Linked DNA regions of Homo sapiens: region 1 is linked to region 2. Evidence: promoter capture Hi-C in 16 types of primary human blood cells and fetal thymus (Javierre and others, 2016). All regions are on one chromosome and are shown on one strand. The core of a region is centred on a gene start or on the middle of the fragment in contact, and the rest is flanking DNA. Distances in the headings are between cores, read along the strand shown.

Region 1 (4,581 bases), core at 677-3,176, 73 kb before region 2:
TTCTGAAGATTCTGGTGCTTTACACGAGTCTGTGCTCTGAGCATATGTGGAAACTTTCTACAAGAAAATGTACATTTCTGTTCAATAAAGTGGTAAGCTTTCATTATAATTTCCACTATTACTGCCTTAATAAATATATCTTTCTCTCTTCATTTCTTTTTGCTTACCAACCCTTTTTCCCTGTCCTGTACTTTCTATTTTAAATTAATTCAGTTTTAAAGAATGCTTAATGTAAGATACCTTATGTTTTACTGTTTTTTTTTCTGTCAAATAAAAACAATTTATGGCTTATTTTTTCTTACTTTGTGTCCATATGGCATTTTAATCTACTAAACACTGTCAGACATTTTGCTGAGATTTTAAAGTCTTAAAGTCTGAGGAATGTTTTTTCCATTTTTTTTAAGTAGAAAAACTGAGCCATAAATTTTTTTTTTTAAGACCAAGCCAGGCATAGGATTAGTTTTCTTATTCTGCCTAAATTCTGCAAATGGGGGTGTTTAATTGCTGAAAACAAATTTCATTATGTTCAAGCCTCAATCATTTTATGATCACAAGGTACCTGAAACAAAGATCTTACATTAGTAGATATATAAGATGCTTGTGTAGGGGGTGTATTTGATTGTAGATGTATTTTCTACCTCATTACTTCAATATTCTGCTGTAGCAAAATATATGAAATGCTACCTTGAATAGAAATAGTTAAATTTGGACACTAATATTGCTCTTTCCTCGTTATTGTTATATTCTGCACTGCTGTCTTAGGATGTCAACCATGGATTAACTGAGGTAAGTTTGGTGTAATAAAGCTCATGTTTAGAGTAAAATATACTCCATTTTCTCCTGAGTAATAGAAGAGCCAAAGATTCGTTTTTTTGGTGTGGTTAAAAAATGTAAATAAATAGATATATATGTATCATTTTTTAAAATACAGTCTGTAGAGATTATCTTGTATAACATTTCAGAAGTTTTCTGAAGAAAATGAAATTCTGTTAACATTACACCTATATGATGCCTCAACAATATTTGCTTTAGAATAGTTTCTGTCCTCCTCAAGTCTTCCAGTATAAAATGTAATGTGTCCTCAGAATATAAAAAAGCAAACTTTTATTTTAAAATTTAGCAAATGCCTACCTAATGTGGCTGAAAACATTTTATATTAGAGAAGTAAAACAAACTTCATTTTTAAAATTGATTAATTGATACTCAGAATGGTCACAAAGTTAAACTTTTTGTATGATTATCTTTCTCACTTCTAATATATAAAGTTCTAGCACTTTGGTTTAAGTAATCAACAACCCTAGACTACCCTTTTAACACTTGGGAACATTATAATACTTTCTTTATCCGTTATAGATGTCAGGTTTTGCTTTGATTTGCATTTTGTTGGTTGCTATGTTTTTCCCAGCACTTGAACCAATGAAGCATTTTGAGTTAGCTTTAAATTATAGCTCTAATATTGTTTGCTTCCTCATTGTCAAATAGAATTAGCACATAAAATTATGAAAACATAGAGTTTTGAAGCCAAAGGGTGCTTTGGAGATATCTAAATCTTTTTGAATTTCAGAGAAGTAAAATTAGTTTTTATGATCATTAGCTAGGCAGTGCCACAAATATAGGATGGAGGTAAACCTTGTCACATGAAAAATACTGAAGAGTGAATGTTTAGAATGTAATAAAATACAATTTAGGGAGAGCATGATTAGGACTTAAAATATTTAAACTACGTACACTTCCCAGCAGGGGCAAAGCAAAGACTAAATGATGCATAGTGATATATAGAAATGCAGATTCAGGCTGGGCACAGTGGCTCACGCCTGTAATCCCAGCACTTTGGGAGGCCGAGGTGGGCGGATCATGAGGTCAGGAGTTCAAGACTAGCCTGGCCAACCTAGTGAAACCCCATCTCTACTAAAAATACAAAAAATTAGCCGGGTGTGGTGACAGGCACCTGTAATCCCAGCTACTCGGGAGGCTGAGGCAGGAGAATCGCTTGAACCCCAGAGGCGAAGGTTGCCGTGAGCCTAGATCGCACCATTGCACTCCAGCCCCGGCATCAGTGCAAGACTCTGTATGGGGGAAAAAAAAATGCAGATTCAGACTATAAAGAACTGTCTAATCACTAAGAAGTGGATTGTTTTAGGGTGTATTAATTCTTCATTAGAAGTCTCATAGCAGGGGCTCTGAGTCAGGGCAGGCACAAAGATATTGTTTTACTGGGTAGATGGTAGAAGTAGGTCGTCCTCCAACTACAAGAATGTGTGACTGGCAATTCATAACTCTTTATATTTTACTGCACTATTAAAATACTTAGCAATCAATATATTACCTGCCAGGATAAGTAATTGTCTATAAAGTGTCTAATGTCTAATAATGATAATAATAGATCAGTTCTCGTAACTTTAAAGGCTAACAGAATAGTAATACTAATGGTACTTTTTTGTATATTAAGTAAATGAAGAGATTATTGGACTCATAATAATTTTGATACCCTAATGACATTATACTCAATATCTGTTAAATGAAGGAATAGACAGATTACTTATCATTAGCCTCAGTTGCTGCAGTTGCCCTAACATGTAAGAATTGGCTATCGCATTTAACATAGGAGCCCCCAATTTTAGAACAAATTTGCAACCTCATTCACTGAGATTTGCAATTAACATATGCTAAGCAAAAGATACTTGCAGTATATGATTGTATAGACTCTCAAGTATACAGTCGCCCCCTAAAATTGGGAATTGGGTTCATTCCAATGCCTCATTTAATTTTTAATAATTCTGTAAGCAGCATGTTTTATTTGTAATTCCAGAACCACATGAGTGAATAAACAAAGAATGTAGTCCACTTTATAAGAAATGTCAGCATCCACAGTAAGTATATCACAAATCAACTTGTACTAATAAGTTAATTTTTTATTTCCAGTTGGCAGATATCCCTGTTACAATCTGTACATATCCATTTGTATTTGATGCCCAAGCAAAAACTACTCTGTTACAGACCGATGCAGTCTTACAGATGCAGGTAAAATATTATTTGAGAGGGTTTTTTTTTTTAATTGTTTCTTTGATGTTTCTGGACAGTAAATATTTGAAATTTTCCTAGGATCAGTAATGAAGGTACACAAAGTACTTTGGGTAGCTATAAAGAAGACTGCTGCATGTGATATGTATATTCTTATGAGAACATTTATAAAAAAAGGTTGCAGTGAAAATGGAATAACTTAACCTATAATCATTTTATATATTAAAAATTGTATAAGCCTCTTTCATTACAGAAATATTCAATCTTTATAAACCGTTTTACTAGTTTACTTGATAAGATGTTGGTTTGTTTCAAAATCTTGTTTCATTATATGTCCCCTTTTTATATGCTTGGTAAGAGATGGAAGTCACTAGAGGTGAGAGATGTTAAAAGTAGGAAGCATTTGATCTCGTTAGGAAGAAGATGTGAAATTTCCTTGAAGAAAGTTTCAATAATAAGGTATTAAACATGTTCCTGGGGTTGGTCACCATTATCTCCTATTCCTCTTTCTTTTCCCCTTCCTATCACCCTTTCCCATCCATTTTATGTTGAGAGTTCTTTCATTTATAGAGAGGATTTTTTAAACTAATTCATATTATGACTTTAAAGGGTTACAGTAAGTTTGCTTTATCATTTGATCCTGTAAATAAAAAAGATTTTGAGCTGCTTCCTCTGGTATAGAATATCTGACTATACCAACTAAGGATTAAGGAAAGGATGAAAAGAAAGCTTGAATATTTAATAGTCTAAAAATATTTTAAAAAATTAAAAACCTTCAAATCTTGGTAACCATTTTTATTCTGTTCAAATAAATGCATTTGGTATTCTAAATATTTTTGTAGTGTTCTATACTAACAGCTAGTAAGCCAATTTTTTGGAGGTCTTTGTTAAAACGATAAGTTAATAACTTGGTGATTTTACCATGGGATATTCCATTTTAGAACAAGAACTCAGGGAGAACCATAATAAAAGAACAAAAGTTTTAAATGGTAAAAGTCAAATCCTTGGTTCGTGAGCACATACCATGATCACTTAGTTAAGTGAATTTGTGTAATGCTTCCTTAGCCAGATCATTCCTTATTCTTTGTTTTTTATTTTTTATTTTTGAGACGGAGTTTCGCTCTTGTCGCCCAGGCTGTAGTGCAGTGGTACAGTCTCAGCTCACTGGAACCTCTGCCTTCCAGGTTCAAGTGATTCTCCTGCCTCAGCCTCCTGAGTAGCTGGGATTACAGGCACACACCACCACGCCCTGCTAATTTTGCATTTTTAGTAGAGACAGGATTTCACCATGTTGGCCAGGCTGGTCTTGAACTCCTGACCTCAAGTAATCTGCCCTCATTGGCCTCCCGAAGTGCTGGGATTACAGGCGTGAGCCACTGCGCCCAGCCTGTTCCTTATACTCTTTAAAGGTTTGTTTTTGCTCCTCCCTCTTTACCCTCCCCTCCAGTGAATGTTTTTTAGAAAAACCAATGCTCAGATTTATCAGTATTACTACCGTTCTGTACTGGCTTACTCTAATGGTGTTATGAGTTATACATTATACATTAGTATAAAAACATT
Region 2 (4,673 bases), core at 791-3,290:
CTATTAAATAAACAGTATTAATAACACAATTATTATTAGGTAAATAATAAATTAGTACTCAACTGTGTTGCTTGAAATCAGGGTCTCTTTACTAAATCAGTCCCTAAAAACACATATTACTTTTTTTTTTTTTTTTTTTTGAGACGGGGTCTCACTCTGTTGCCCACCCTGGAGTGCAGTGGCAGGATCACAGCTCACTGCAACCTCGAACTCTAGTACCTGGGACTAAAGGTGTGCGACACCACGTCCCGCTTTTTTTACTTTTAGTAGAGAGGAGGTCTCGCTATGTTGCCCAGGCTGGCCTGAAACTCCTAGGCTCAAGAGATCCTCCCGCTTTGGCCTCCCAAAGTGCTAGGATTACACGAAAGAGCCACCGCGCCCGGCCTGACCCAAATATTGATAAAGATGAACACCTATCAAGGATAGAAACTCCTCAGATCAAAAATAAGAAACCTGACCGGGCGCGGTGGCTCACGCCTGTAATCCCAGCACTTTGGGCGGCCGAGGCGGACGGATCACGAAGTCAAGAAATCAAGACCATCCTGGCCAACATGGTGAAACCCCGTCTCTGCTAAAAACACAAAAATTAGCTGGGCGTGGTGGCGGGTGTCTGTAGTCCCAGCTACTCGGCAGGCTGAAGGAGAATCGGTTGAACGCGGGAGGCGGAGGTTGCACTGAGCCGAGATCGCGCCACTGCACTCCAGCCTAGCGACAGAGCGAGACTCCGTCTCAAAAAAAAAAAAAAAAAAAAAAAGAAACCTTCAAGAACATGACAACTGCAACATATCTGCTTCATTATGCTAGAAGTGTTAAGTTTGTGTCTCAATACTACATACATACAAAAAAAGCATGTTTAGCCCAAACACCATTACCGCACAAGAGCAAGATTAGAATAAAAGTAATATGAACAGCTCTAAAAGTACTCTCTCTCCCATACCCACTCCTAACTGCATTACAGAATGGTAATGTCTTCAGGAACAGCCACGTTCTTTAAATTTTGCAAGCTGTGACTATAGAAACAGCTTTCCTCTTTCAAAAATTGTAATTTCAGTCATAAAAATATAGACCAAAAAAAGCAAACTGCACAGGTGTCAAGTTTGCAAAAAGCAATTGAAAACGCAGACCAACGGGACAGCCAAAAAGTTGCAGACTTAAGTGTGCTGGGGGGTAGAGGAGAAAAGCAATGAAAATAAAAAATAAAGAAAAAGAAAAAAAAAGCTCTAACAAAAGCAATATGCTAAAAGAGTAAGAGGGGGAGAGAAACTTATTTTAAAGCGACTGCGAGAGTCTCCCGACCTGGCTGCTGCGGAAAGAACAAGGCCGCCCAGGCGGGCCACGGACGGAGGAAAAGAGCGAATCCACTGGCAGCTCGCGCAGTAGGAACCGCAGCCCCGGAGGAGCGCGGCTGAACGGAGGGCCGGGGTGGGGAGGGGAACGCCGCGGAGCCTGCCCCGAGCCCCCAGCCGCCCTCAACCTCAGGCCAGTAGGAGCCCGGGGAGAGGGAGGAGGAGATGCGCAGTTCCGGCCGCCCGCACCCTGCGCACCTCGGTACCCAATCGCCGCCGCCGCCGCCTCTTCCTCCTCCTCGCCCTCGTCGTCGTCGTCTTCGTCGTACAAGTTGTCGGCCAGCGGTGGCTCCCGAGATGGGCCCTGCAGGCCCGGCCCATTGTCTCCTTCCCCAGCCGCCGCAGTCGCCTGGGCCTCTTGCTCCCCGCCTGCCGCCGCCGCCTCTGCCTCCGCCTCCCGCCACAGCGCCGCCGCCGCCGCACCCGGGCAGCCCCTGGCCGCCGCCGGCACCTCACGCTCTGGGGCCGCCCCACCGGGCTCGCCCGGGCTCCGCTCGAGGCCGGGACCATCTCTCCGCGGCCTCTTGCGGAGCGGCTCCCCGGCGGGGGACGACGCGGCCTCCCTGTCGGCCCCCGCCGCCGAGGGGGAGCCGCCGGGCTGAAGGGCGAGGGCCGCCTCGTCCGCCATCTTCCAACTGCCTCTCTGGCCCTCCTCCCTCGCCTCCTCTGCTCCCGCTCGACGCGCGGCACTGGCGCCCCCGCGGCTCCGGCTGCGGGAGATTTAAACCCCATCACGTGACCCGCCCCATCGCCGCCCCCGCCCTCTCGGCGCTCCCGCCACCCACGCGGGCCAGACCACAACACTACGGGTCACGTGGCGGGCGGAGGCTGTTGCGTCTACCGCTCCGCCTGGGCTGGAAGCGCACTCGGCCCCGGCGGCCGGCGGCCCTTCCTCTTTGTGGCGAGCGTGTAGTGCAGCCAAATTCGCCCCTCGGCCGCTTTCTCAACTTCTCTTTCAAACTGACCTCAAATCACTACCGCCGGAACAGCTCAAGTTTTGGTCCGCCCTGGGAATTTCCACGTCTTCCTGAAGTGTACACCTGGCCTGCCTTAGCCTTGTCTATATTTAGCTAAGGGTTAAAACACAGCTGAAGCTGGCTAAGACTTAGCTCCCTGAAATACGTTGGATAGTCGTTCTGTTTTGTTAATAAGTAGGAAGAGAGGCAAAAGGAGGCGGCTCCTTTCCCACTCTCCTCACACCGTTCTGACAGCTCCTCTTTTGCTCCTTTTTCTGCTCCTTGCTTTTCTCCTTAGTCGGTTGCTTTTTTCCCCTCTCTCCCATCACTTGTAGGGTGGTATACATTGTAAAATCCTTGAAGGCATATGTCCTCCTGGGAAGACCTTTGACGTGGAGGTTTGGAGATCAGCCGATCTACTTTCTGGCCCCAGCTTGGCTTCAAACGTGTGTGAATTCCCTCCTCCGGGCCTCAGTTTTCTCACGTGCAGAATGGGTTTGTTGGGTCAGTATGAGAGCATGGGAAGGAAATGACTTGGCCTCCATGCACATCTGCCCTTGGTTAAAATTTGGAGTCCTTCCTTTCTAGCGTGAGCTATCTAGCCGTTTCTAAACTTAATTTTTCTCATGTCTTAAATGGTAATAAGTATTTTAAAACGTCATAGATTTAAATGAGATAACCAGATGTAAAACGAGGGGTACCTAGTAGTTCAAAAGGCTTAGTGGAAAGCCCTTCCACTTTCCTCTCTCCCTGAAATTCTGGCACACTGTGACTCCATATCTAATCTTAACTAAGGACCCATATAACCCATGGTAGATCTAGAGCCAGTGTTTGTTATGGCATCTGCCTGGAGCACAGCGTTTCTATCTGTTTAAAGGACCTCTACGAGTTTATGGTACACTGTCCCTTAAGCCTAGTATGGGTTCTGGCCATACTGCATCAATTACCTGCGTGACTTTAGGCAACCAACTTAAAGCTGTTTCTTCATCCTTAAAATAAAAAATAAAAAGCTGGAAATATATCGCTAAGGTCCTATCTACATCCAAAAGTCTTATTTCATCTGGTCACCACTATTCATTTCTGAAAGTAATCATCTCCAGTCCTAGAAGCCTTAAAACCATCTTTGGTTGCGTGGGGGTCAAGGGGAGGGAGAGCATTAGGACAAATAGCTAATGCATGCGGGACTTAAAACCTGGCTGGGCGCGGTGGCTGCTGCCTGTAATCCCAGCACTTTGGGAGGCCGAGGCGGACAGATCACCTGAAGTCGGAAGTTCGAGACCAGCCTGACCAACATGGAGAAACCCCGTCTCTACTAAAAATACAAAATTAGCCGGGCGTGGTGGCACATGCCTGTAATCCCAGCTACTCAGAAGGCTGAGGCAGGAGAATCGCTTGAACCCAGCAGGCAGAGGTTGCGGTGAGCCGAGATCGCACCATTGCACACCAGCCTGGGCAGCAAGAGCGAAACTCCGTCTCAAAAAAAAATATAAATAAAACCTAGATGAGGGGTTGATTGGTGCAGCAAACCACCATGGCTCACCTATAAGTATGTAACAAACCTACACATTCTGCACCTGTATCCTGGAACTTAAATTAAAAAAAAAATCTTTGAAGCGTTCCTTCATACCAATCCCTCTGAAATCCATCTGACCAATCAATGACCAAATCCTGTTGTCCTTCCTTTCTTGCTACACTCCTCCCAATTCCTGACTAGGCACCACACTCCTAGTGGTTGACATACTTGGTCCTCCCCACTTTCTGTCTTACACTACAAAATATTTCATAAATTGACTCTCAGCTACGTTGGTGGAATGCAATATATGAAATGTTGAGAGTCAGTATCCCAATAAAACAGAAACAAAATTCCCAGCTTTTTTGAGAAAAAGATGTCTGTAAGCTTATGAGCATCCTGTTGTTCATTAATTCATTTATATTTATAGTATATTATTGACACGTGAAGTTTATGAACTACAAGAAATGCTATGTGATCAATATTATTGTTAGTATGCTGAGAGGTCAGAGATGCAGTATGCTTTTCAGGTAGGATAAATGAGAAACAGAAATTGTATTACAACAAACACAAAAACAAAAAATCCCAATTAGACTTCTGGTCTACCACTGGTTAAGAACTAACATTAAGGCTAGGCGCTGTGGCTCACGCCTATAAATCCCAGCACTTTGGGAGGCCAAGGCGGGCGGATCACCTGATGTCAGGAGTTCGAGACCAGCCTGACCAGTATGATGTAACCCCGTCTCCACTAAAAATACAAAAATTAGCCCAGAGTGGTGGCATGCGCCTGTAATCCCAGCTACTCGGGAGGCTGAGACGGGAGAATCGCTTGAACTCAGGAGGTGGAGGTTGCAGTGACCT

Evidence for each region. The method cuts DNA at HindIII sites, captures the fragments that hold promoters and counts their contacts. A CHiCAGO score of 5 or more calls a contact.
Region 1: a fragment that was not itself captured here is called in contact with the fragment with the promoter of SIRT1 in region 2 in 1 of 17 cell types (M1 macrophages); the score reaches 6.4 in M1 macrophages.

Annotation. Positions count from the first base shown.
Region 1 is chr10:67,955,318-67,959,898 of GRCh38, reverse strand. It overlaps HERC4 (HECT and RLD domain containing E3 ubiquitin protein ligase 4), which reads left to right. Exons shown (of 25, transcript NM_015601.4): 17 at 2,923-3,021. Among named protein-coding and RNA genes, the nearest start is that of SIRT1, 73 kb to the right of the region's middle. The HindIII fragment of the contact is 3,653 bases long and covers 100-3,752 here.
Region 2 is chr10:67,882,023-67,886,695 of GRCh38, reverse strand. SIRT1 (sirtuin 1) reads right to left here and starts at 2,040. Exons shown (of 9, transcript NM_012238.5): 1 at 1,545-2,040. The coding sequence starts at 1,974. RefSeq lists silencers at 1,335-1,454, 1,251-1,545, 1,980-2,164, 1,665-2,204, promoters at 1,972-2,147, 1,974-2,185, 1,973-3,004, 1,975-4,360 and enhancers at 2,285-2,444, 2,465-2,524. The HindIII fragment of the contact is 7,021 bases long and covers 1-4,201 here.